7 separate regions of the Homo sapiens genome follow, and all the other regions are linked to region 7. Evidence: promoter capture Hi-C in human tissues and cell types (Jung and others, 2019). All regions are on one chromosome and are shown on one strand. The core of a region is centred on a gene start or on the middle of the fragment in contact, and the rest is flanking DNA. Distances in the headings are between cores, read along the strand shown. Region 1 overlaps SYNPO2 (synaptopodin 2). Region 2 overlaps SYNPO2 (synaptopodin 2). Region 3 has its middle 57 kb from the start of PRSS12. Region 4 has its middle 16 kb from the start of PRSS12. Region 5 overlaps PRSS12 (serine protease 12). Region 6 overlaps MYOZ2 (myozenin 2). Region 7 holds the start of METTL14 (methyltransferase 14, N6-adenosine-methyltransferase non-catalytic subunit).

Region 1 (3,332 bases), core at 103-2,602, 360 kb after region 7:
GGCCACACAGTCTCTTCCCACAATAACAAAAATAATCACCATTTGTTGAGCTACATGGCATTCCATTTATAAACACAATCTTTACTCTGCCCATAATCTTGAAACTGTAGCCAGCAATACTCCCATCTTACAATTAAGGAAAATAAGACTGGGAGAAGTTGAATTGCGTGGATAACAAAAGACAAAGGCAGAACTTTCAGGTCAATGTGACATCCAAGTTTCCATTCCTTCCAATATAAGATGCTGGCCTCCATTGTCATTTACAAGCCTTACGCTTTCTCACAAACAGATTTCCTAGAAGCAGAAAGTAAAACTTTTTGTTTAAAAGTCTGTTGTTTTGGAAGAGAAAATTTAATCTAAAAGTTAATCTAAGATGACTGGTGAGTAACAGAACCAAGATGATATGCTACATACAAGACCCTATCTCTTATTTTGATGTCAGAGTATGTCCATTGCATTCATGAAACTATTTATTTTGTTTATTTATTTTTTTTTTAGATGAAGTTTCACTCTTGTTGCCCAGGCTAGAGTGCAATGGCACAATCTCAGCTCACTGCAACCTCTGCCTCCCGGGTTCCAGCGATTCTCTTGCTTTAGCTTCCCAAGCAGCTGAGATTACAGGCATGAGCCACCATGCCCGACTAATTTTGTATTTTTAGCAGAGACAGGGTTTCACCATGTTGGCCAGGCTGATCATGAACTCCTTACCTCAGATGATCCACCCACTCGACTTCCCAAAGTGCTGGGATTACAGGCGTAAGCCACTGTGCCCAGCCCATGAAACTATTTAAACAACATGTGATTACTTGGCCACTTTTCTATTCAAAAATATGGTTTATTAGTCCTGATTATGTGCCCTTCTTGGCAGACAGAATGATACTGTGTACTTCTGCTGAAAGAAATAGAAACTCTCTTCCATTTTCTAGATAAGAGAGTCCTAAAACAGAATTTCCAAAAACTCCAGTTAGTGGAGGTAAACTTAAAATCCTCTTTAAGAAGGCAAGTGTTAGGGAATGAGGAAAAGACTATTTTATTGAGACTAGAACAAAATGACCTTCAAAGTGTTTTTATCCTCTAACTTCAAGCTTGATTGTATCTAAACCACCTCAAGGGAGCGTTTGTTTTATATTTAAAGACCTTTAGGTAAAGGGATTCTATATCTCTATGCAGAAATTTTTTCCAGTGTTGAACTGTTTCTACTGTCAAGAAAATTTTCACTGAGGGCTCATTAGAGCTGGGAGGGACTCTAGGAGATTAGTTAGTAGAGGCTGCCATTTCCTAACACGTACTTGCAGTCTCATGATAAACGGTAAATCAACTTTCAGCTTGCTCTTCTTCAACCCTAACTAATTCCAATCTCTTTTATCGTTTTCTTCTTAGGTCTGATTTATTTAATCTTGCAAATGTATTTCAGGTTCTCTTTAGGGTTTATGCATAATTTTCTAAGACTTTTCTCAATTGTGAAATCAAAGCCGTTTGAAACTCTTAAACTTCCACTGACCTGAATGCAAATCATTTATTTGAACCTTAAAAATCTTCCACCTGTTTAGAAAAATTGGTTTGTTCATAAATATTGACTAGTCCTGTCTGTCTTGTTGAACATGACTTGGGGTGCATATTGGTTTGCATATATTGAAGGTGGTGGGGATAGTTCTGTTTGTGTCCCTTGTCACATGTAACTGATGTGTGAGAGGGGCTACATCTTGTGAACTGACGTAAAATTCTGGTGAAGATAACCACATTTTCAGTTTATGACAGCCTGATGTAGAAATTATCATTCATTCAACAAATATTTACTAAGCACCTACTATTCTGGTGCCAAGTACTGTTCTAGGGAAGCCTTAAGGAAACAAAAACCTTTACCCTTAGATGGACCTTAATTTCTAGTGGAGAGAGAAAAATAAACAAATGATTAAGTAGAATATTTATTATGTTAGATGAGTGTAAGTCTAAGGGAAGGATTAAAGCAGGGGAGAAAGGTAAGGAATTTTGAGAGAGGGAGGGAATTGCCAAGCTGAGTGATCATGTAATATTTGAGTAAGTCCTGAAGAAAACAAGGTAGGAGTCATGCTGGTACCTGGGGTGAGCAAGTACAAAAATCCAGAGGATTGGAAAGTACAAAAATCCTGAGGCATGAGTGTACCTGGTGTGTTCAAGGTTCAAGGCCAGTGTGGCTGGAGGAAAGGGAGAGGAAGAGAACATGAAGAAGATGAAGTCAGATAATGCAAGGAGCTAGTTGGCAGATTTTGTGGGGTCTTGTAGGTCAATGAAAGGACTTTGGTTTTTCCTTTTTTGAAATGAAAAGCCATGGGAAGTTTTTAAACAGTAGACTGAATAACATAATCTGACTTGAGTTTTAACTGGGTAGTTTTGGCTAGCATATTAAGAATAAACTAAAGGAAGCAAGAATGAAACTAGGGAAATCAATTAGGAGACAGTAGCAATAATCCAGGTGAGAATTTGTGATAGCTTAGTCCAGGATGCTACCAGTGGAGGTTGAGAAGACTTGGTCAGATAGTGGATGTATTTTGAAGTCAGTGCTGACAGATCAGGTGTGGAGTGTGAGATGGAGAGCAGTCAACACTGATTCCCAAAATTTCAACTTGAGCAAATGGAAAAATGGAGAATATCTGTGGTTTCTTCTATTTGTGTATCCCTTCTAGGACCTCTGCTTTTCAGAAATTCTAATCCATGATTAAAAAGGCAAAAGAAATACTTTTTATTCCTCTTCACTTTTCTTGGACCTCCCAGAATCTGTGTATGATAAAGTATATGTTTGTGATGATCATTTACTGATCATGTGTTTAAGAGAGAAAAGAGTCAAAGGAATTGAAATCATATTTATCAGTTGACGCCCCTTTCCCTACAGTGCATGTGTAAGCAGGGTTTCAGCCAAGAGAATTGTATCACTTTCAAGGTTTATGGTATAAAATAGTTTAAACTTTGACTCACGACACATACATCAGATTTATCTTCTTTGGCTTCTAGGACAGTTTACATTGCTTTAAAATTCACTTCTTTGTGCTAAGTAAACCTCAGATTACACTTTCTTTTTGCATGTCAAGTGTTCCCTGCCAGTTAAATTGGTTACTAGACAGCTAGACAGTTTAACAAGGAAGCTAACTAAGCTGTTTTATTAACAAGCTGTGTGGATAAACCAACATTTAATTGACATGAGAAGATGGTTTATGTTAAGCTGAGAAAGGCCCTCAGCTCCTCTGAGCTTTTCTCCTGCATGCAGAGCCCCGGATATCTCATCTTCATGCAGCAGAAGTGCATCTAAATGCGATGCACTGTATTCCCTACGGCCCGGTCACCTGCCTGTTCTTGTG
Region 2 (3,736 bases), core at 442-2,941, 300 kb after region 7:
GCCAATGATATGTGCTCAGTAAATATTTGTTCACTGGTTGGATATCCTTTCATTATCTATACTATATTTTCAGCACAATGACAGGGTAGCAACAGAGGCATCTATTGCAGGAGGCCATACAAATTGTACCTCAGAAATTCATATAACCAGGAATTATAGTCTGAGCAATTACTTTAATAAGTTAGAATCTCTCTGTAATTATAGGTTACAGATGGTGACATAAAAACACTAGGAGGTCAGGAAGTTTCTTCCGCACTCAGCATACTTGAACTAAAAAGAGTGGACATTTCATAATTCTGAGCACCTTGGTCTATTGCTTGGTCTGTGCCTCGTGTTATTCTCAAGAAAGGAGACTGGATCTCAACCATCACTCATCCACACTTGTGTTATCTTTAAGCACTGTAGAGGAAAAAACTCTTTTGGAGTTTGAAGAATAAAGTTGGATACATTGCATAGTATATGCGGTTTTTAAGCTAACTTAAAGGGAAAGCTTCCTGAATGAAAATAAATCATATTAGTTTAATGATGGCTGCTATTAATAATGACATATATACCCATATATAGTATAGTGTAGTAAAAACTTTTCATCTGTTTTCTGGAAATCTTGATTTTCAACTCTTTCTAATGTATTTTTCTTTTGGGGGCCCACTCAGACCTTACAATATGTCTTCTAGAGGCACAGAGTGAAAAGCCTTGTTAGTCTGCTGATGTGCCTTCAGACCTTCTCCGGACTATTCCTTGACCAGAACCATCCCTTTTCTAGCTGGCTTTTCTGGTAGAGTCTATCCACACTCCTAGAACTGTCTACTGTTTGCTTGGCAAGGTCTACCTAGATCCTTCCTTGGCCTGCATCCTCCTGGGAGCTGTGGGGTCACCATGAGCCTTGTTACTTCTTTCTTTTCCCCCCTTCCCCAGCACACACCCACACATGCCATCATTCCACCGACTGGACTAATTTTATCAGAAACTAGACTTGTAAATTAACAGAGACATATATGATTTCACTTACAATTTGAAAAAAAAAGAACTTGATTAATAAGTGTCAGCATCACCATTCAGAGTATCTATAACTATCACAGCATAAAGTAGCTGGAAAAGAAGCACATATATAGAATCCAGTGGTTTTCAGATTCCAATTTATAAAATGGATAAAAGTGAACCTGGTTTAGTTAAAGAAGGGAGGGAAAGAGGACGCTGCCTCTTAGGCCTCATCCTGGTGGTGGCATGTGTGGCATGCCATCTGCACATAAGCCTATGAACCCCTAATCTGAGTTACATGAAACACTTTGCCTATGTGGAAACTGAGTCTGGAATGGTTAAGCGACTTGCTCACAGTCACATACCCAGTTTGTGGCAGAGCTGATTCTCAATCTCAAGTTACTAAGCACAGTTTCCTTTTTCTGGGCTTTTCCCACAGCACCAAATAACTGCTAGATAAAGCACTCTTTCCTGCTCATTGCGCTGGTCCAGTTTATCTCTGTGCCCAAGAGCAGTTTAGAAGAACTAGCATTTTCCATGCAAAAATCTTTGTTGAAGGAGATTCATGATTAACTGAAATCACCCAAAGTACCACAAACAATGCAACAAACCATGAAGGACAGCACAGCGTGTGTTTTTATCTGACCCATTTGTTCCAGGATGGGCTCTCTAGTTGAACAGCCTAACAGCCCTGCAACCAACCTGTCTCATAAGCCCTGCACAGAACAACCCAGCAGAATTCCTAAGCCTGCTCACATAAACAACCAGAGAAGTTAATCATAGGCATGAGAGACTTTTGGTGGTGGCCAATTAGAGCAGACCCCCCACAGAGCTTCATCATAGGGTAGCCACGTCAATGTCAATACCCTCCTCCGTGCAACAATCCTTGTGATTAATGTAATTACCATAATTACTGACCTCTCTTCTGAGAGTCTTGGCCACATGGAAGAGTTGAATGTTTTCCCTGAATGCGTTGTCTCCATACAATGTATGCCCTTAATTATAGAACATGATGTCATAAGTTCTGATTAGGGGGTTGCCCTAGAGGAGCTGAGGATTGGCCCCAAAGGCATAAGGGGGCCAGTTCAACTCATAGCCCACCCTAGTCCTCCCGGTCACATGCAGGTAGCCAGTTACTTGGTAATTAACAAAACAAGCTTGTGGTTGTTGCTGTCGTCCATTTTACTCCTATGTCTTTTGGGGCCTTCTTGGGAAATAAAGGCTTCCTTTTTCCTCATGTACCTCATAATTATTGTGCCCCAGAACTGCACATAATTATTATTATTTTTCCATTCAGGAGTTAATGCTTCAGCCAAACAGGTCTGGACGGAAACCCAGTTTGCGTTCAGAGGAAAATAGTTGACTATTCTCAGACTAGACCACTTGAGGGCGGCATTGCCTTAGGAGAGTGTGTTTTGACCAACTAATACATAACCTAAGGAGGAAATATGCAGCGTGGGTGTCACAGGCACATCACTGTAGTTCAGGGAATAAAACCACAAAAAATGAGAACATACTTCCAGGGAGTCAACTCACATTTAGGAATGAAGGAATAAATGTCTAATTTTAAATGTGGTTGCAAAGTTTTTTTTTTACATAACAGAATTGCTTGAGGCAGGCGCGCTGTAAACCATTTATATGGGGAGGGATTTATTCTGTGAAATGAAGTGCTATTGAAAAAAAAGATAATGTCCAGTGCAGTGTAGGAACAAAAAAGGCAAACTAAAATATATTGCACAATGAAGACTGGGGACAAAATCATGAGTATGTTTGCAGGTCTTCATAACCCTCTCGGATGCACATAGTTCTTCACCATGGACATGTCCCCATTATAACCTCTTTTAATTTGGCAGGGAGCTGCTCCTTTGCCTTTCCTTCATATTTTGGGGGTCAATCCAGATGAATGAGAGAAAATAAAAGAGGGGGAAGAGAAGAGAAGGAGGATGGTATGCCCCTCTGTACTTGGAGAATCACTAGCGGTGGTCTCAGTCACAGGGAGACAGACTGGTTCCGCTCATCTCTGATCCTGCCCCAGTAAATTACTTGCAGATATCTTTTTGGTAGTTTTCACAGGATGCTAATAAACTGATCAGCCTAGTATGCTAGAGATATTTAAGTTCTCTTTCCAAATATCACTGCATACATACCTAAATAACAGACCAATCATTGATTTCCAGAAACCTGTCTGGAAGGCATTCTACATTCTTTCCTTTGCTTCTTTTTATGGGCCACAGAAAGAACACGATAGTTCTTGAATACATTTCCCAGATTGTCCAAAGAGGTCAAACTCTTAATGTTAAGCACAGTTCTTTTGAGACTGTGGTTGTGGGGGAGAAATTAAAGAAAGATCTGGAAGCTAATGGAAGCTACTCAGATGAGTAGCTTCTTTAGTGCAACCTCAGCTGGAACGTCAGTGACTCTTGAAAATTCTTTCTTCCCTCCCAAGTCAATATCCTATCAAATTGCTTTCTGTATTTTTTTGCAAATCTCCAAACAGAAACTCATGGAACACAGAGGTAATCTTGGCTACTTTGCAGAGATGGCCAAGGAGATTAGGTGTGAACTTCTCCGGTTTTCTTCCCTTCATTGTTAACTTTGCCTTTATTCATCCCTTTCAGTCTTTTCCAGGATCTTGTTCCATCAAACATCTCCCTACCTCCACCCTTTTCTTTTCAACCTTTTCCTCTGTACTTAATGGGGAAAGTTCTTTACCTCATTTCTCTTTCCAGCATCTATTCTCTCTGCCTCCATTCACACT
Region 3 (3,303 bases), core at 592-3,091, 280 kb before region 7:
AACAGAGATATAGACCAATGGAACAGAACAGAGCCCTCAGAAATAATGCCACATATCTACAACTATCTGATCTTTGACAAACCTGACAAAAACAAGCAATGGGGAAAGGATTCCCTATTTAATAAATGGTGCTGGGAAAATTGGCTAGCCATATGTAGAAAGCTGAAACTGGATCCCTTCCTTACACCTTATACAAAAATTAATTCAAGATGGATTAAAGACTTACATGTTAGACCTAAAACCATAAAAACCCTAGAAGAAAACCTAGGCAATACCATTCAGGACACAGGCATGGGCAAGCACTTCATGTCTAAAACACCAAAAGCAATGGCAACAAAAGCCAAAATTGACAAATGGGATCTAATTAAACTCAAGAGTTTCTGCACAGCAAAAGAAACCACCATCAGAATGAACAGGCAACCTATAGAATGGGAGAAAATTTTTGCAACCTACTCATCTGACAAAGGGCTAATATCCAGAATCTACAATGAACTCAAACCAATTTACAAGAAAAAAACAAACAACCCCATCAAAAAGTGGGCAAAGGACATGAACAGACACTTCTCAAAAGAAGACATTTATGCAGCCAAAAAAGACATGAAAGAATGCTCATCATCACTGGCCATCAGAGAAATGCAAATCAAAACCACAGTGAGATACCATCTCACACCAGTTAGAATGGCAATCATTAAAAAGTCAGGAAACAACAGGTGCTGGAGAGGATGTGGAGAAATAGGAACACTTTTACACTGTTGGTAGGACTGTAAACTAGTTCAACCATTGTGGAAGTCGGTGTGGCGATTTCTCAGGGATCTAGAACTAGAAATACCATTTGACCCAGCTATCCCATTACTGGGTATATACCCAAAGGATTACAAATCATGCTGCTATAAAGACACATGCACACATGAGTTTATCGCGGCACTATTCACAATAGCAAAGTCTTGGAACCAACCCAAGTGTCCAACAATGATAGACTGGATTAAGAAAATGTTGCACATATACACCATGGAATACTATGCAGCCATAAAAAATGATGAGTTCATGTCCTTTGTCGGGACATGGATGAAGCTGGAAACTATCATTCTCAGCACACTATGGCAAGGAGAAAAAACCAAACACCACATGTTCTCACTCATGGGTGGGAATTGAACAATGAGAACACATGGACACAGGAAGGGGAACATCACACACTGGGGACTGTCGTGGGGTGGGGGGAGGGGGGAGGGATAGCATTAGGAGATATACCTAATGCTAAATGACGAGTTAATGGGTGCAGCACGCCAACATGGCACATGTATACATATGTAATAAACCTGCACGTTGTGCGCATGTACCCTAAAACTTAAAGTATAATAATAATAAAATTTTAAAAATAGCTATGCAGTGATTTGTGGTATATTGCTTGCATAACAATGAATAATAGGGAACATTTTACTGATAAATAAAAGGTTTTGTCAGTGAGTACATGCAATGAAATAATACCAGAAGAAAAAAACCTGATACTTTTTAAACTACTGCCTGACAGATTACATGAAACTAAATAAAAAACAAGCTTTTGTCAGGTTATTTGTGTTTTCCAGATTTACAGAGCCATTCTCTTTGAATATTAAATAACCATGGTTTTAAATTTCTACTCCTCTCCTAGACTGATTGCTGGAGGCAAATTAATTTCAGATTAATTTCCAACACTTCTGAGGGAGGAAAATACCTAAAGCAAGAATTTGTATTAATCACGTATCCATCTGTCTTCTACATAAGGCCATTCAAATCCTCCCAGAATCTGTTTTAAAACCAGTGCTTCCTTTTGTTGAGAACATTACTTAAATATTCCTCCCCAAATTAGGACACACATGCATTATCTGTGAGTCATACCGCTCTCAAATACACAGATTTCAGATTCCATCGTCATTATGAGTCCATACAATGCCCCTGTTTTATTTCATTATTCTTTCCCCTTTGTCCTATTCATTCTCATATACATCATCTTTCCCATCAGAGATATACACATTAATATATCCAATATGTTTCCTTAGGCATCTGAAAATACAGCCCTGAGATACAACATATGGTTGTTTTCTGTGTATATGTGTATTTTGAATATATAAAAATTGTTTTGTTCTATAGAATTAATTCCATATTTCCAAGATCCATCTACATTCCTACATATAAAAATGGTTAACTACTTCTTCCTGTATTTTATCCCATTGTGTGTACATGCTATGTATTCTGAGTAGCCATTTCCCTAGGGATGGACATGAAGCTGCCTCTAACTTCTTGCTAACACTAATAATGATAGGATACCACACTCCAAAATATCCCCTTAAGGATTTGTACACAATATAAACCCAGGTGAGGGAATGATAAGTATACAAATTATATGAATAATTAATTTCACTAGGTATTGTGAGTTACACTCCCATCAATAGTGCATGAGTTTTCTGATTTCTTGACATCCTAGCCAGCACTTAGTATTAGCTGACTTTGTAATTTTTAGCGATTCTTTGTTGACTTAATTTGAATTTCTCTGATTACAAGTGAAGTTGAACATCTCTTCATATACATTTTGGCTATTTAGAATTCCCTTCCCATGAATTGTCTATTTTAGTCCTTGTTCAATTTTTGAGTTTCCTTGTAGATTTTAGTAGTTCCTTATATGGTCTAAATGTTAATCACTTTTTAGTGTTACACTTTAAAAATATCTCCTGCTAATGTGTCTGCAACCAGCCTGTTAAGTTTGTCTATCATATCTTCTTTGTATAGAAATATTCAGTTTTAACATGATCACATCCATCAATTTCCACCACACACCCTTAAGGTTTGTACTTTTTGGGTCTTGTTTAAAAATCCTTTCCCATCCCAAGTTCACAAAGAAAGCTTCATGTATTTCACTCACTTCATAGTGTTGCCTTTCATAGTTAGGTTTATTTTTTTCCTATGTGTTGAGCCACATACTAAATAATGTGTCTTTCCTCTATGAGTTATGATGCTAATTTCTACTATATTCCTCATTCTCATATATAACATAGGCTTGTTTACTGGTTTCCTATTCTGTTATATCATTTTTTTTGTCCATTCCTATACTGGTATCATACTATTTTTATTGCTATGGTTTTATATGTCTTAATATATTCAACTAGACAAGTTCCCTCTCTTTGCTCTTCTTTTTAAAAAATTCATCTTATTTATTTGTGGTCTATTATTATTCTATGCACATTTTATAAGCTAATTAATTGCCTAGTTCTTCACAAAATCCTCATGAAATTTTCATTAAAATTGCATTGAATTTATAGATTTAGGGAG
Region 4 (3,327 bases), core at 245-2,744, 320 kb before region 7:
TGACCACTAACACACAATTTCAAAGAAATTTTGTATGTATTATGTTATATTATGTAACGTAGCAATTAAGGACTGGCCTTCAAGAGGAGTCAGAAAAAGTCTGTGTTCAAAATTTAACTCTGCTTCTTACTTAACTCGGATGACATCAGGCAAGTTGCTTAACTTCCTTTAGCTCAGTTTACTTGTCTATAAAATAAGGATAACTCTAATATTTCAGCAGTAACTTTTTTTAATTTTAATTTTTTTGTACAGACAACATCTCCCTGTGTAGCCCAGACTGGTCTCAAACTCCTGGTCTCAAATGATCCTCCCACCTTGGCCTCTCGACGCACTGGGATTACAGGTGTGAGCAACTGTACCCAGCTGGTAATCATTATTTGATGAATAAATAATGAAATAACAGCATGGTACCTGGCATATAATACACTTTAGATAAATGTCTGTTAATAATGTTAATAAAATTATTATTGTTCAAGTATAAGTACAAAATAAGAACTCTAAAGCTCAAGTAAAGGGAAGTGAAAAGAACTTTGGCTTTTTCTCCCTATTGCTTGCAATTCAATTTGGCCACATACTGGGCCACTAGACTGTCTTCTGAGAAAAGAGGTAGGAGAGGGAAATGTTAGACGTGGTTTAATGAAGTCACATGTTCAATGACAATTGAGACTCAGCCTGCCCAGGAGCTGGGTAAACATTAGGCTCTCTGGCCTCAAGTAGTTGGTGCTTAAGAGCAGGCATAACAATCTTCTGCCAAGGGAAAATATTGATCAATAAACATAAACGTTACCTGAAAGAGTTCTTAACATTTCAGTGATTATTCTGTTAAGAAAGAAAAAACAAAGATTGTTTGTTTCAGAAATTTTTAAGGTGCCCAGCCTAGGCTTCTGTATGAATTCCTGAATAATAACAGGCCAAAAGAATTCAAGGCTGGGTGCGATGGCTCATACCTGTAATCCCAACACCTTGGGAAGACAGGGTGGGAGGATGGCTCGAGGCCAGCTGTTGGAGACCATCCTGGGCAACATAGTGAGACCTCTCATCTACAAAAAATTTTTAAAAATTAGCCAGGTGTGGTGGTGCACCTCTGCAGTCCTAGCTAGTTGGGAGGCTGAGGTAGGAGGATTACTTGAGTCCAGGAAGCCAAGGCTGCAGTGAGCTATCATCACGCCACTGTACTCCAGCCTGGACAACAGAATGAAACCCTGTCTCCTAAAAAAATAAAATTAAAATAAAAAAAAAGAATTCAAGAAAATTCCTCTTCCTTAATCACAGATAGATAATGCTTCTAGGGCTTCCATGCAGGCTATAGTTAGCTGCAAATGATTTTATTCTTCCTTCTTTCCCCAGGCCTCCAACAACACAAGCTCTCTTTGAAATATAACCTTGATCTTTAGCAGGTTTCTAACCATTAACTTTCTGTCAGAAGAAGGGAATATTACAATAAAGGTGATCATTCAAAAGATGGATTTACTTATTTTTTCTTAACATTAAATTCTTCTTTATATTTATTGTTATATTTAAATAAGGAGATACTATGTTGCCTAGTGGATAGCACATAGATTGGCAATCAATGCACATTATGTCAAATTCTACTTGGCTATTTTATACCTCAGACTTGCTGTTTTTGATTGAGTTGCATCTGTAGATGACAATGTCACCTCATAGTAATGTTTTGCAGAGATGCTGTAAAAAGAAATGCTGTTTGTTACTTCATATGCACTCAACAGACGGTATGTTTTTTGTTCCCCTTTTTTTTTTTTTTTGTATAAGAGGCAGGAGAATAGCTTGAACCAGAGAGGCAGAGGCTGCAGTAAGCCGAGTTTGTGTCACTGCACTCCAGCCTGGGCAACGGAGCGAGATTTCGTCTCAAAAAAAAAAAGAAAAAAGGAAAAAAAGATCAATGTTCATTCAATATTATTAGAGGATTAAATGTTTGTTCCTTTCCAAAGCATGTGTCAAGAAGCAGTTTTGCAATCCAGACTGAAATGGAACTAGTCAGGAAAACTTGTTATAAACCCTTGAGAACACGCTAACCTTTAGAAAAAAACTCACCCAGTGTTTATTTGGGACCCTGAAGTCCAGTAAATAATGTGTATTTAATTAAAATCTCAGCTTCTTTGGGAAGGAAGTGAACTTTCTTTGTCGTTCAAATTGGTAGGCAAAGGAATTTAGACCAAATTAAAGTGTTGTTGAGCCTTCAAAATACAAAACAAACGAAATAATATTTCTAAGGACTAAATTATATGCTGATTTTTTTGTCTTCCCACACTGACATTTTAACTCTTTTACTGTATTAAAAATATAAAGTGGCCAGGCGCAGTGGCTCACGCCTGTAATCTCAGCACTTTGGGAAGCCAAGGCACGCGGATTGCTTGAGCTCAAGAGTTCGAGACCAGCCTGGGCAACATGGTGAAATCCCGTCTCTACTAAAATACAAAAACTTAGCTGGGTGTGGTGGCGTGCGCCTGTAGTCCCAGCTACTCAGGAGGCTGAGGCAGAAGAATTGCTTGAATCCAAGAGACGGAGGTTGCAGTGAGCTGAGATCACGCCACTGCACTCCAGCCTGGGTGACAGAGCGCAACACTGTCTCCAAAAAAAAAAAAGAAAAGAAAAAATATAAAGCATTTAGGCCATTGAACTTTACCTGTGATGCAGTTTCATAAATATTTCTTGAAGGAATAAGTAAATGAATCAATGATTGTCTTTACTCTGTTCTCCACCTATCTAAATCTTATTAACCAAGGTCCATTTTTTCCCCTATAAATGTCCTTCCAGAGGATTCCAGCCCAAAATGTAGATTAAAACAAGTGCCCTCATTTTCAAAAGTACTAGACTACCTTTTAGAATTCACTACCTCTCTGCCCTAAGTTTCAATTGCTAGTCAACTCTGACCCAAATGATCACCTCTGAGTTTAGGTTAGACCCAATCAATTACGTTCTCATAATCAATTATCAGAGACTATTCAATGAGTATGTAATCTCAAAGCATTAGTCCCAAAATTGAACTTGGGACTCTTAAGGGTGCCACCATGCTATTCCAGACAGCCAATTTTAGGAGGAAGAACAGTGTAATCCCTGACTTTTCATGCCAGTCTGCTCAAGACACTGAGGAACCCCATCCAGGCCCATTCCAGTCCTGGCTGTCAACAGACAACAAACCAAAGTAAGCCCTATGTAAAACAGATATTTTTAAAGTGGCCAGGAGCGGTGGCTCACGCCTGTAATCCCGGCACTTTGGGAGGCTGAGGCGGGTGGATCACCTGATGTCTGGAGTTCGAGACCAGCCTGACCAACATAGTGAAATCCTGTCTCTACTAAAAATACAAA
Region 5 (3,466 bases), core at 871-3,370, 340 kb before region 7:
CCCGTCTCTACTAAAAATACAAAATTGGCCAGGCATGGTAGCACATGGCTGTAATCCCAGCTACTTGGGAGGCTGAAGCAGGAGAATCACTTGAACCCGGGAGGCTGAGGTTGCGGCGAGCCGAGATCTCACCACTGCATTCCAGCCTGGGCAACAAGAGCAAAACTCCATCTCAAAAGCAAGCTAACCACAACAACAACAACAAAACTATAACTTATTTCCTTCTACTTATGGATGAAAAAGCTACAGACCAAAGCAACTGAGCAGTTACAGAGCCATGATCAACTATCTCCTAGTTCCCTGCCCTGGTTACTGACCTTCTACCTCCAAACTTAAGCAAAGACCCTGAAATACAATAAGTACCTTTCAAAACTTCAGATATTACTTTATGCATTATACCATGTTAGAGTTCACCATCCTACTGAAAATACTGCAACTAATCCACCAAATCTTGTATGGAAATAAGCCAACTAGGAAGAGAAGCATAAAGTAGCCTGAAGTTTCTTTACACCGTGGAACAGGAGAGAAGTGGCTTTCTGGTGCTCCTATAGTTGACGCAAATCCTCCAGTAGAAGCTGATTTGTCCCACAGCTGTACAAAGTTGTAGGAGGACTATGAACGTGTGGGTGTACACATTTGCACAAATGTATAGGTACACAATTACACAATGGAGAAAGGAAAATAACCTTAGCTCAAAGAAATCCGCAAAGCCCAAAGCTAACCAAGTGAACTAATTTCTATTGCTGTACCTAACAATAAAGTGATTTGCATAAATTGTAGACGAAATTCTTTGTTTGGCAAATATTGTTCAATTGTCCAATTTTTTATTATCAAGAATTGATCCCTCACCTTCCGCCCACATTCTCCTAGAGCAACCAACCATTCTTCGATACTCTAGTCAGAGCTTGTGTCCCTGGACCACACCGGAGTGTGTGTGATCCAGCGTTGCACTGTCTTAAAGTCTCTCAAGTGCCACGTGCACAGAAAATATTCTATTCTACATATTTCTATCTTTAAAATGCGTTAAGAATAATAATTTAAAGTCTCAAGCAGAGGTTTTAGGTCAATTATATTAAGCATTATAAACATGCAGACCAAACTAGTAAAGGAAGAAAGTCTGGAATTGTACCACTATGCGTGATGGCATGTCATGCAGTGGAGGCCCCAGAGTTCCTGAAATGAACGGCTACCAAAAAAGAAAAAGGTCAACTGTCTGCTGGTGTTATAACTATTTAAAGGCAAAATGTTCCAATGTACAACAATGTTCAGAATTCTACTATCTTAATTCCTTGATAAAAATGTTTAACTGTTAAACATTTACAGTAAAATAGTTTACAACTGTTTTCCTTCTAAGTACATAGGCCTCCAGTTTTATAAAGGAAAGAAAACATAAAAGGTTCATGTAACAGAAATTTGCTTGATGGACAACTTCGCTAGAAAACAGGAATTCCCCAAATAGAGGGACAGGCATTCAAGAAGAGTTCTCTTTAACCATCTTATCAGTCTCAGTCAATACAGGTAAACTAGAGAACAGCAGACTGGATAAAAATTCCCTTCACAAGTCTCATTGGTTTCTGAGCTTTAAGATTTAAGACTAAGGCAAGGCACAGTGCCTCACACCTGTAATCCCAGCACTTTGGGAGGCCAAGGCAGGAGGACTGTTTGAGCCCTGGGGTTAGAGATCGGCCTAGACAACAGAGTGAGACACTGTCTTTACAAAAAAAAAAAAATTAAAAATTAGCCGGGCTTGGTGGCCCACGTGTGTAGTCCCAGCTACTCAGGCTACTAAGGCGGAAGGATTGCTTGTACCCAGGAGTTCAAGACTGCAGTGAGCTATAATTGTGCTACTGCATTCCAGTCTAGGTGACAGAGCAAGACCCTGTCTCAAAAAACAAAAAACAAAAACAAAAGCAAAACAACCTTCCTTTCCATATTCCATATGTGAAGGAAACCTAAAAGAAATAGGAGAAAAGGAACCAAATGAGTCAACTATCTTCATTCTATATACCCAGCTTATTCCAAAATAAAGCAAATGAAAAGATATCCCTGTTCAGCCTGGATAACATAGCAAGACCCCACCTCTACAAAAAATTTTAAAATTAGCTGGGCGTGGTGGCCCAGGCCTGTAATCCCAGCTACTTGGGAGGCTGAGGCAAATGATCGCTTGAGCCCAAGCATTCAAGGTTACGATGAGCTATGACTGTGCCACTATACTCCAGCCTGAGCAACAAAGAAAGACCCTGTGGGGGGAAAAAATGCATGCCTGCCTATTTAGTTAACCCCTCATTAAAATGTACTTATAAAATAGCATTCCTTAATTTAAAGAGAAAGAAAATGCAGTAAAAACAAAGACCCACCCCAATAGTGTTTTCTGAATAAAACTAGTAATAAATATTTTTAAAATCTTTTTTTAAAAAATCACAGTTTGATAAAAGAGTAAAAAAAAACTTCACGTTTTCACACAAATCCTTTCTTGTCTATTATTGAACTTTACAGATGCATAAAATAATTAGTTTTAGTCATTTCTATTGTTCTAGTGGAATAGAAAGAATGCATACTGGCAACATCCAGCTAGTGTTCAGATCCTTGACAAAAAGTACACTTAAAGCTGTGAGTGATACAGAAATTTCAATTTATGACCTATTCAAAAGAATAGAAAAAAACCATTACATGTTGAACAATTTAGTACACATATTTGACATTAAGTTAAATATAATACTATGTCTTATACCAAATGCAACACTATAAAAATATACTAAATGACCATTCTCTATCAATTATAAAATATATTTAAAAAATTACAGTACCTGAAAACAACTGAATTGGGGGACTCTTGGTTGAATTTTTCAAGTACAGTAGGGGATGCTAGGTTAATTTTTATGTTATTTTCTTTCTTCACTATATTCTACAGTACTAAGTTATACTATTTTCATCTATAATTATATTTACCTGTTAATTAAACCTGCTATATCTTTGCTAAATAGTATATTTTATTCAAGTCATCCCAGGTCAAAATGAATCAAATCATTTTTAACATACAAGGCATTCCCCTGAACCAAGATCCAACTGAGCTATATTTGCCTCCATTAGTTCACATCTATAATTCATACTAATTGTTCATTTATTATTCATGTATACAACAACTTAAATGCTGAGAAAAAAAATCAGTTGGTATAGTTCAAAATGAGAGTGCATCCCCTAAGTTAGCAATTCTACCCATTTACAGTGTGCTGATTAGAAATTTATAAATCTTATAAATTATTCCTTAGTTTAAAACATTATATGATATCAAACAAAAAAAGATGACTCTGTCCATGGTTAAGCTATAGTAGGCTAACAATACATGCATATAACCTCAACAGAAGCTTTCACAAATTGTGTGTCCCCAGACCATCTACACATAAACAAATGGTATGGGTATTACCATTTTATTGCATAGCAGTGAGTGATGAAATTGAAACCAAAC
Region 6 (3,367 bases), core at 256-2,755, 470 kb after region 7:
TATTAAGTCCAACACTCAAGATAGGAGCTGAGTTCAAAATGCAAAAATGTTATATTACACACACACACACGCACACACACACACACACACAATGCCTTTCTTAGTCCATCCATGTTGTTATAAAGTAATAGCTGAGACCAGGTACTTTATAAAGAAAAGAGGTTTATTTGACTCATGGTTCTGTGAGCTGTACAAGAAGCATGGCATCAGCACCTGCTTCTGGTAAGGGCCCCTGGAAACTTCCACTCATGGCAGAAGGGAAAGGGGAGTTGGCATCACATGGTGAGAGAGGAAGGAAGGAAGAGAGAGGAGGGAGGAGGTGCCAAGTTCCTTTTAACAATCAATTCTCATAGGAACTAATTACTGCGAGGATGGCACCAAGTCATTCATGAGGAATCCACCTCCATGACCAAACGCCTCCCATTAGGCCCCAACTCCAACACTGGAAATGAAATTTCAGCATGAGATTTAGAGGGGACAAATATCCAAATCACATCAGTGGCCAACTAGACTTCAGCCAGATTATAAATAGGATGGGGACTCCAAATGACATAAATGCAATACCAAAACCCAGGTAACAGGAACAAATAAAGAAAGAGCACGAGAAGGTGGCATAGGTTTTATTGAAGTATTGGGATAATACAGAATATGGAGACATTTCCGGTAGATTAAGTTAGTTAGAAAGAAGACGGAAATTCTAAGATGGGTCTTAGAGGAAACCTAGGATTTGGTTTAGTAAAGAACAGAAAAGAGGGCATTCAAAGCAGGTGAAACAGCTTGTGGGGCTGAGGAGGGCAGAGGGTAGTAGTGGGGAACTGGCTTGTGGAAGTTTGCAAGGAATGAGAGGTAATGTTTATGAGGTGAGTATGACATCTACATTACCAAGCAAAAGAGTTTGCATTTTATTCACTAGGCAATTAGGAACAATTTCTAAAGATTGGAGTAATGCCATACCAGCATTTGTATTCGGTCTGACTGGAAGGAAAATGCTTGGTGGAAAATGAACAGAAGATAGATGATGACATGATAAAGTATGAGCAATGAGGATAACAGGAGCATGAAGACTAAAGTGAAAAAGGAAGATGGCATTTTAAAAAATGTCATAGTGAAAAAGAATCAGCTGGGTTTGGCTATTTATTCACTAAAAATTCAGCTAATATTCGCTGACTGCTTGTGCTATATAAGACACCATCTTAGGCTTTGTAAAAGACATATGGGCAAAATGAAATTCCCTGTTCTCAAGTAGCTAACAAGCTAGTAAATGAAACAGGACACAAAATATTATTTTAAAGGCGAATTATAGTAAATGATACGGGAGCGGCGAGAAGAAAGACAAAAAACTTTTTATTGGAAGGGGAGGAAGAATAAGGGAAGGGGTGTTTTTTAAATCACGACAGAGCCGACCATGGTAATGACGGAGAGGGGTCCTCTTGCTAGGGGAACTCCTATGATCAAAGATCAAAGGTAGAAAGGTGGAGAAACATACAAGATAATGGGGGAATCTTGATCTATGATCAAAGGTAGAAAAGCATACAAGATAATCGGGGAATTATAAGTGGTTTGGTTTTAAGCTTAGGGTACATCTTTAAAAACTGATGAGACTAGGTAGGCAGGTCTCAGTGCAAGGCTAAAACATTTAGGCTTATTCAGTATGCAATAAAGTGTGAACATGATGATGAGTTTGCAATTAGGCATGCGATGTTTAAAGTTGTAAAAATGTTTAAAGTCATAATATTTTTGCTATAAGTTTTAACCTCAGGCAGAGACAGCTCTAAGAGAATTCCTTCCCAAAATAGATCTTTTAAAATTCTAATAGAGATTAAGTATTTTTGTTTAAAAAGCTATTCGTTGAAAATATATATATGTTCCTGGGAAGTTAGTATATCATCAGACTATCAATATTTTATAAGTATAATTTATTCATGAAGATTTTATTTTATCATTGTCATTTTCTGCCCTGTCCAAATGTGGGCTTTGATGAAGCAGACGAAAGAACAAAGGCTCAAATTTGGACTACTGCTTTGAAAGTAGGCTTTTTTGGAATGCTGCAGAGATTAACATGAATGCAAAAGCCCTTGGGGAGGGGCTGTGTGGGTGAAGCATAAAAATGGAGATAAACTTTATTTCCTTCATAATTTTATTAAGTGAGGATCTTAATTTATGGCCTTTAGTTATGGTAAGTATTTAAATTTTAAAACAAAATTGTATTCTATCCTGAAATTGCTATAAAGTTAAATAAGTGTTAAAATGTAAAGGTATATTTCATCACAGAATCTTACAAACAAATATAGAAATTAAAAAATGAAAGATTTTCTGTATGTCACACACAAAAGAGTCAAAATCAGTGTCTAATTGCTATGCTTTTTACTAAATTTTTATTTTTGAAGTTAAAAGATGATTTGACCTAATCGCTTCTTTTTAAAATACACATATTTCCTATATGCAATTAAAACAATGATTTATTATGAGAATAAAACTTGGCTATACTTTTGAGGACATAACCTACTACGATGTCTATTTTTTTCTTAAAATGCAAACTGAACATTTTTAAGGTGCTATATTATTGCCATAGAATAAATCCTGTAATAGGAAAACAAATTTATCAAAATTTAAAAGACAAATGTATTTTTTCAGCATTTTATTTTCTAAAAATCAAAAATTTTTCCTTTTGCAAGTCTATGCAACTTAAAATATAAATGATTTTTGTGTTTTTTTGGAGTACATATGATTGCCGTTGAAATTTCAGGTTAGATTTTTAAACTTTCTAGACGTTAAAAAATCTAATTAAAGCCCAAATATAAATACAATGGAAGATAAGATTTACTAGGCCAAATGCTTAGCCAGTATGCTCTACATTATTAGATTAGTAAGGATTCAAAAATTAAATACATTTATCTCATAGGGATGGTCTGAACAGAAAATGAAATGATTGGTATGAACCACTACACACAGTGCCTGGCACACAGTAAGTCTCAATTTCAGCTCTAATCATTATTAAGTGGACTGTCATCATAAAATAGATCTTAGACTGATATCAGTAAATCTTCTCATTCAAGTGCGCAACCATCTTACTATGAAAAAAATTATTGAGGTCCCAGGAAGTAATGAAGCGACATTGCATTTAAATTATAAATATACAATTGAAGTTTTGCATATATAGCTCCTATTATTGTGCTTACATTTTTGAGTTTTCAGCAGAGTTTACTTTTGATTAAATACAGCACAGTATTGCTATGCAGAATGGGAAAGTGGATGGAAGTAACTTGGAAGGTGGTTCGCAGCAAGCCCCCTTGACTCCTCCCAACACCCCAGATCCACGAAGCCCTCCAAATCCAGACAACATTGCTCCAGGTAACCAATCCCCTTA
Region 7 (3,676 bases), core at 438-2,937:
ACCTTTTGATTTCCTGCCTGTGCCTCCTGTGGGCAGAGTCTTACAGGAAGCCATCTAACAAGGAAGGCTGGGAAATGTAGTTTGTGGACTCCCTGCCTAGCCATCATCTCGAAGCAGAGGGTAGGTGAGTATGGGGTTCAAAGATTACAAGCAAGTAACCTGCATAGCAACTTATCAGGAAAAAGAAAAATCCTCCATTAGACAGTAAACTCATAAAGAAAAACCGACTTTAGTTTTTAATCTTTGACAGACTTTATAGACTCTAGGGCCTATCACAGTGCTTGCCATATAAAATGCTCAATCAATATCAACAGATATTTAAGTGAATAATTGCCTATTCTCACCATTGGTAAAATTTAAATCAGTATTCAACTTAAATGATTGCCAGATAATACAACTGATTTTTAAAGAAATACACTTTAACTCATATGGACATAAATATTTTACAGTATCCAAGTAGTGCTGACATTACTCAAGGAATTGTTTAGGACTACTTGTTCAAAATTGTCTTTCAGACCTAGTTCTTCGGAAATACATTATAATTATTTCTATAAAAGTGGGCATGACTAAGTAGAATCTAGTCTTGCCCACTTTTGGCCCAGCCTGACTCAACTGGTTTTGATCTGGATGACTTAATATTATTTCTGAAAATTAAATCTACTCTGAAAGAACAGACTTATTACTAATTTTGTTAAGTACTTACCGCGATTTCCAATTAAACTTGAGGCAACATGATGTCTTACTCCACTTCCGCCACTGTAGGCTTGAAATAAGATGGCAAGTGTGGTGAATAATAATGGTAATAACTCAAATAAGACTTTGGCCTTTGCTGCCATCCTATGAAGACAGAATCACCACCCCCCAGCCCTCACCCCTCACCCCCGCAATCCGAGTAATTTCAGGAAGCTATTTGTTTCCTTATCCTTGGGTTATTTTCAGTTAAGACAAATGTACAAGCACAAAAAGGAGTCTCTTAGCTTCTGACTCCTAGGACATAAACCAAGACACGCTTTACTATCACATACTCATTTCCCTAAAGGGAAGAAGCCAAAAAATGCATACTATAGTAAAATGGGAAACATTTCAAGGGACAGTAAGGTGTGGGGAAGAGTGGGCAGATGTTGTGGCTGTTACCTGCGTGAAGGTAAATAAAATATTAACAATAACAAGCACTTCTACACCGCTATGTGCAAGGTGCTATTTATCCTTTCAATCACAGCTCTGTGAGGTAGACACTTATGACTCCCATTTTACAGATGACAAAACTGAGGCTCACGAAGGTGGTTAACTAGCCAAGGCCACTCGTCTAGGAAGTGAGAGGCCAAGGTTCAATCCTAGGCAATCTGGCTTAAGTTTGTGTTCTGTTAAAAAAAAAAAAATTAAAGGTTATCTGGCAATTTTTTAAACGTCAGGACTGTCATCTGTGGAATCAATTGAAAAGGGAATCAACACTTCAGAAACTGTAATACACCAAGGGAACCTGCTATCCTGGGAAAGAGAGATAAAGGAGAAGTCAGCTGACTGTCCTCCTTCAGACTAGCTCAGACCACCCCAACCTGCGAGGGCCCTGGAGACCCCTGTGGCGCAACAGATCCCTTACTGGGTCCCTTCCAAGTGGCGTCACATAGCAAGCGTCCAGAAGGAGGCGGGACTTCCGGGCCAAGCGAGCCAATTCCGGCCGCGCCGGAAGTCTCTACTGAGGAAAGCTATGAGGATACTCTGTTCGTAAGCTCCCGGTGAATTTTGTTCCACAGACTCGGAAGAAAGGTTGGATAAGAGTTCACTGGAGATTGACAAGTACTCGGGATAGTGAAAAGCCGGAGTTGGAACATGGATAGCCGCTTGCAGGAGATCCGGGAGCGGCAGAAGTTACGGCGACAGCTCCTCGCGCAGCAGGTCCGCGGCCCTGGTGTCCCCTGTGGGAGGGATCGAGAATGCGAGTGCGCGGCCGCCTCCTCCCTCCACACCCCGCCTTTTTCTGTCCCTTCTCTACCTGCCGCTGTTAAGGCCTTTCTGGTCCTGCGATCTTGATCCCTGGTTCTGCCTTTGTAGTTCTCAATTTTCGCGGTGTCCCGAATGTTTTTCCAGTTCCTTCCGCGGTCTTTGTGGTGCTAAACCGAATGCCAGGATTAGCCTTTAAGCTTTGTGGAACTCCCACCGAGTGTCTGGCATGTTCACGCCAGGATGAGTGTCATGTTATCCCCTACATTTCTCTTCACTATTAAATGGTCATCTATTTCTTTCTTTTCTTCGTCGTCAGCCCCAAATTCTTGAGATTGTGGTTTCATTATGAAATACGTTTACAGTATTTTCTTTGACATCTTTCTGAAGACAACACTGGAAGTAGCCTGAGTGTAAATTTTAGATTCTGCATCTTATATAGAGTATCCTTGTCACATCCACAGTTAATATTTGAAATCTTACTCTGTGTTAGTCACAATAATCTCCTGAAACAGGTATTATTACCTTCACTTATCAAGTAATGAAAAAGGCTCCATACGTTAAGGAATTTTACTCCTGGTCGCTCACTTCTCTGCTGGGAAATAGAACCTAGGTTTGTCTCCCCAAAGCTTGTCTTCTAAACCATTGTCCTTCACTTCTTTCTTGTGTATGAGTAAGTTAACATTTGCTGATTAGTAGAGTGCACATGCAGAAAATACAGATTGTGCACAGTTCTACTTAAAATCGAGGCTGTATTTTCCATTCTACTATTCAGATCAGTAAAAGTGATAGGAGCAATGCTCATAGAGTGTAATTAGTCATCTTGCAGTTATTTTTCAGTAATGAAACTTGGTTTTAGTAAATGGACTTCTGAAACCTATCCTCTTTATGGTCTGATGAACAGATTTGTGGAATATGGCTAAAACCGTGGAAACTTGGAGTCAGATTTGTTCCTTTGTTCCTTATCCCGCTGGCATTACGATCTTGGGCAAATCAAGTATCCTTTCTAAGTCTTCTTTTCGCCAACTTCTTTTATCGTATTATCTTCAAAAATGTTAAGTAGCTCTTTGTTGCTACCACAGAAGACGTTTTACTCCTTAATATTGAATTCAAACTTCTATTTGACTCAATATACATTCATAGGACAATTATTTGTTTAGTGTTTTACACTCAGCAGATGCCAGGGGCTCTACCTTTTAAAGTCTTTTATGAATTGGTTGCACTCTACTTAGCCAGCCTTATAACCATTATTTGTTTACATTTGTTTGTATTTTGCAAAATTTTCCAAACTGCCAAACAAAATTTATGTTACCATTTTAAGGTAGTAAAGTTCAGCCTTGTGTCTATAAATAGTAAGACTTAGCTTGAGTAAAACTGGATCGATTTTTATTAGAGCATAGAATAAATAAGTTATATAAGCTGATGCCTACAAAATGTTTAACATGGTACCCACAACCCTGTGCAAACACTGTCTTATCTGCCTTTTTTAGTTATTGCTATTGCAGGTTGAATATCTCTTATCTGAAATGCTTGGGCCAGAAGTGTTTTGGATTTCAGATTTTTTTCAGGATTTGGAATATTTGCATATTACTTACTGGTTGAGCATGCCAAATACCAAAACTCAAAATCGGAATGCTTCAGTGACCATTTCCTTTGAATGTCATGTCAGTACTCAAAAAGTTCCAGATTTTGGAGCGTTTTGGATTTTGGATTTTCAGATTTGGAATGCTCATTT

Evidence for each region. Contacts are between HindIII fragments. The study calls those that stand out against the background at their distance.
Region 1: a fragment that was not itself captured here is called in contact with the fragment with the promoter of METTL14 in region 7 in 1 of the 25 tissues and cell types used here (mesenchymal stem cells).
Region 2: a contact is called between a fragment that was not itself captured here and the fragment with the promoter of METTL14 in region 7, in 3 of the 25 tissues and cell types used here (lymphoblastoid cells, mesenchymal stem cells and thymus).
Region 3: a contact is called between a fragment that was not itself captured here and the fragment with the promoter of METTL14 in region 7, in 2 of the 25 tissues and cell types used here (H1 embryonic stem cells and thymus).
Region 4: a contact is called between a fragment that was not itself captured here and the fragment with the promoter of METTL14 in region 7, in 1 of the 25 tissues and cell types used here (thymus).
Region 5: a contact is called between a fragment that was not itself captured here and the fragment with the promoter of METTL14 in region 7, in 1 of the 25 tissues and cell types used here (hippocampus).
Region 6: a fragment that was not itself captured here is called in contact with the fragment with the promoter of METTL14 in region 7 in 2 of the 25 tissues and cell types used here (IMR-90 fibroblasts and thymus).

The regions. Positions count from the first base shown.
Region 1 is chr4:119,046,583-119,049,914 of GRCh38, forward strand. The region is part of intron 4 of SYNPO2 (synaptopodin 2); the gene reads left to right. Among named protein-coding and RNA genes, the nearest start is that of SYNPO2-AS1, 64 kb to the left of the region's middle. The HindIII fragment of the contact is 3,412 bases long and covers 1-3,058 here.
Region 2 is chr4:118,979,604-118,983,339 of GRCh38, forward strand. All of the region lies in intron 1 of SYNPO2 (synaptopodin 2), which reads left to right. The region is part of intron 1 of SYNPO2-AS1 (SYNPO2 antisense RNA 1); the gene reads right to left. Among named protein-coding and RNA genes, the nearest start is that of SYNPO2-AS1, 3.2 kb to the right of the region's middle. The HindIII fragment of the contact is 4,306 bases long and covers 1-3,736 here.
Region 3 is chr4:118,408,471-118,411,773 of GRCh38, forward strand. No RefSeq gene overlaps it. Among named protein-coding and RNA genes, the nearest start is that of PRSS12, 57 kb to the left of the region's middle. The HindIII fragment of the contact is 3,133 bases long and covers 276-3,303 here.
Region 4 is chr4:118,367,434-118,370,760 of GRCh38, forward strand. No RefSeq gene overlaps it. Among named protein-coding and RNA genes, the nearest start is that of PRSS12, 16 kb to the left of the region's middle. The HindIII fragment of the contact is 8,108 bases long and covers 1-3,327 here.
Region 5 is chr4:118,341,509-118,344,974 of GRCh38, forward strand. The region is part of intron 1 of PRSS12 (serine protease 12); the gene reads right to left. Among named protein-coding and RNA genes, the nearest start is that of PRSS12, 9.8 kb to the right of the region's middle. The HindIII fragment of the contact is 4,288 bases long and covers 1-3,466 here.
Region 6 is chr4:119,154,801-119,158,167 of GRCh38, forward strand. It overlaps MYOZ2 (myozenin 2), which reads left to right. Exons shown (of 6, transcript NM_016599.5): 4 at 3,222-3,351. Among named protein-coding and RNA genes, the nearest start is that of MYOZ2, 21 kb to the left of the region's middle. The HindIII fragment of the contact is 7,792 bases long and covers 1-3,367 here.
Region 7 is chr4:118,683,705-118,687,380 of GRCh38, forward strand. METTL14 (methyltransferase 14, N6-adenosine-methyltransferase non-catalytic subunit) reads left to right here and starts at 1,688. Exons shown (of 11, transcript NM_020961.4): 1 at 1,688-1,896. The coding sequence starts at 1,831. METTL14-DT (METTL14 divergent transcript) reads right to left here and starts at 1,637. Exons shown (of 7, transcript NR_125930.1): 1 at 1,601-1,637; 2 at 704-763. RefSeq lists enhancers at 1,647-1,906, 2,087-2,226. The HindIII fragment of the contact is 10,452 bases long and covers 1-2,355 here.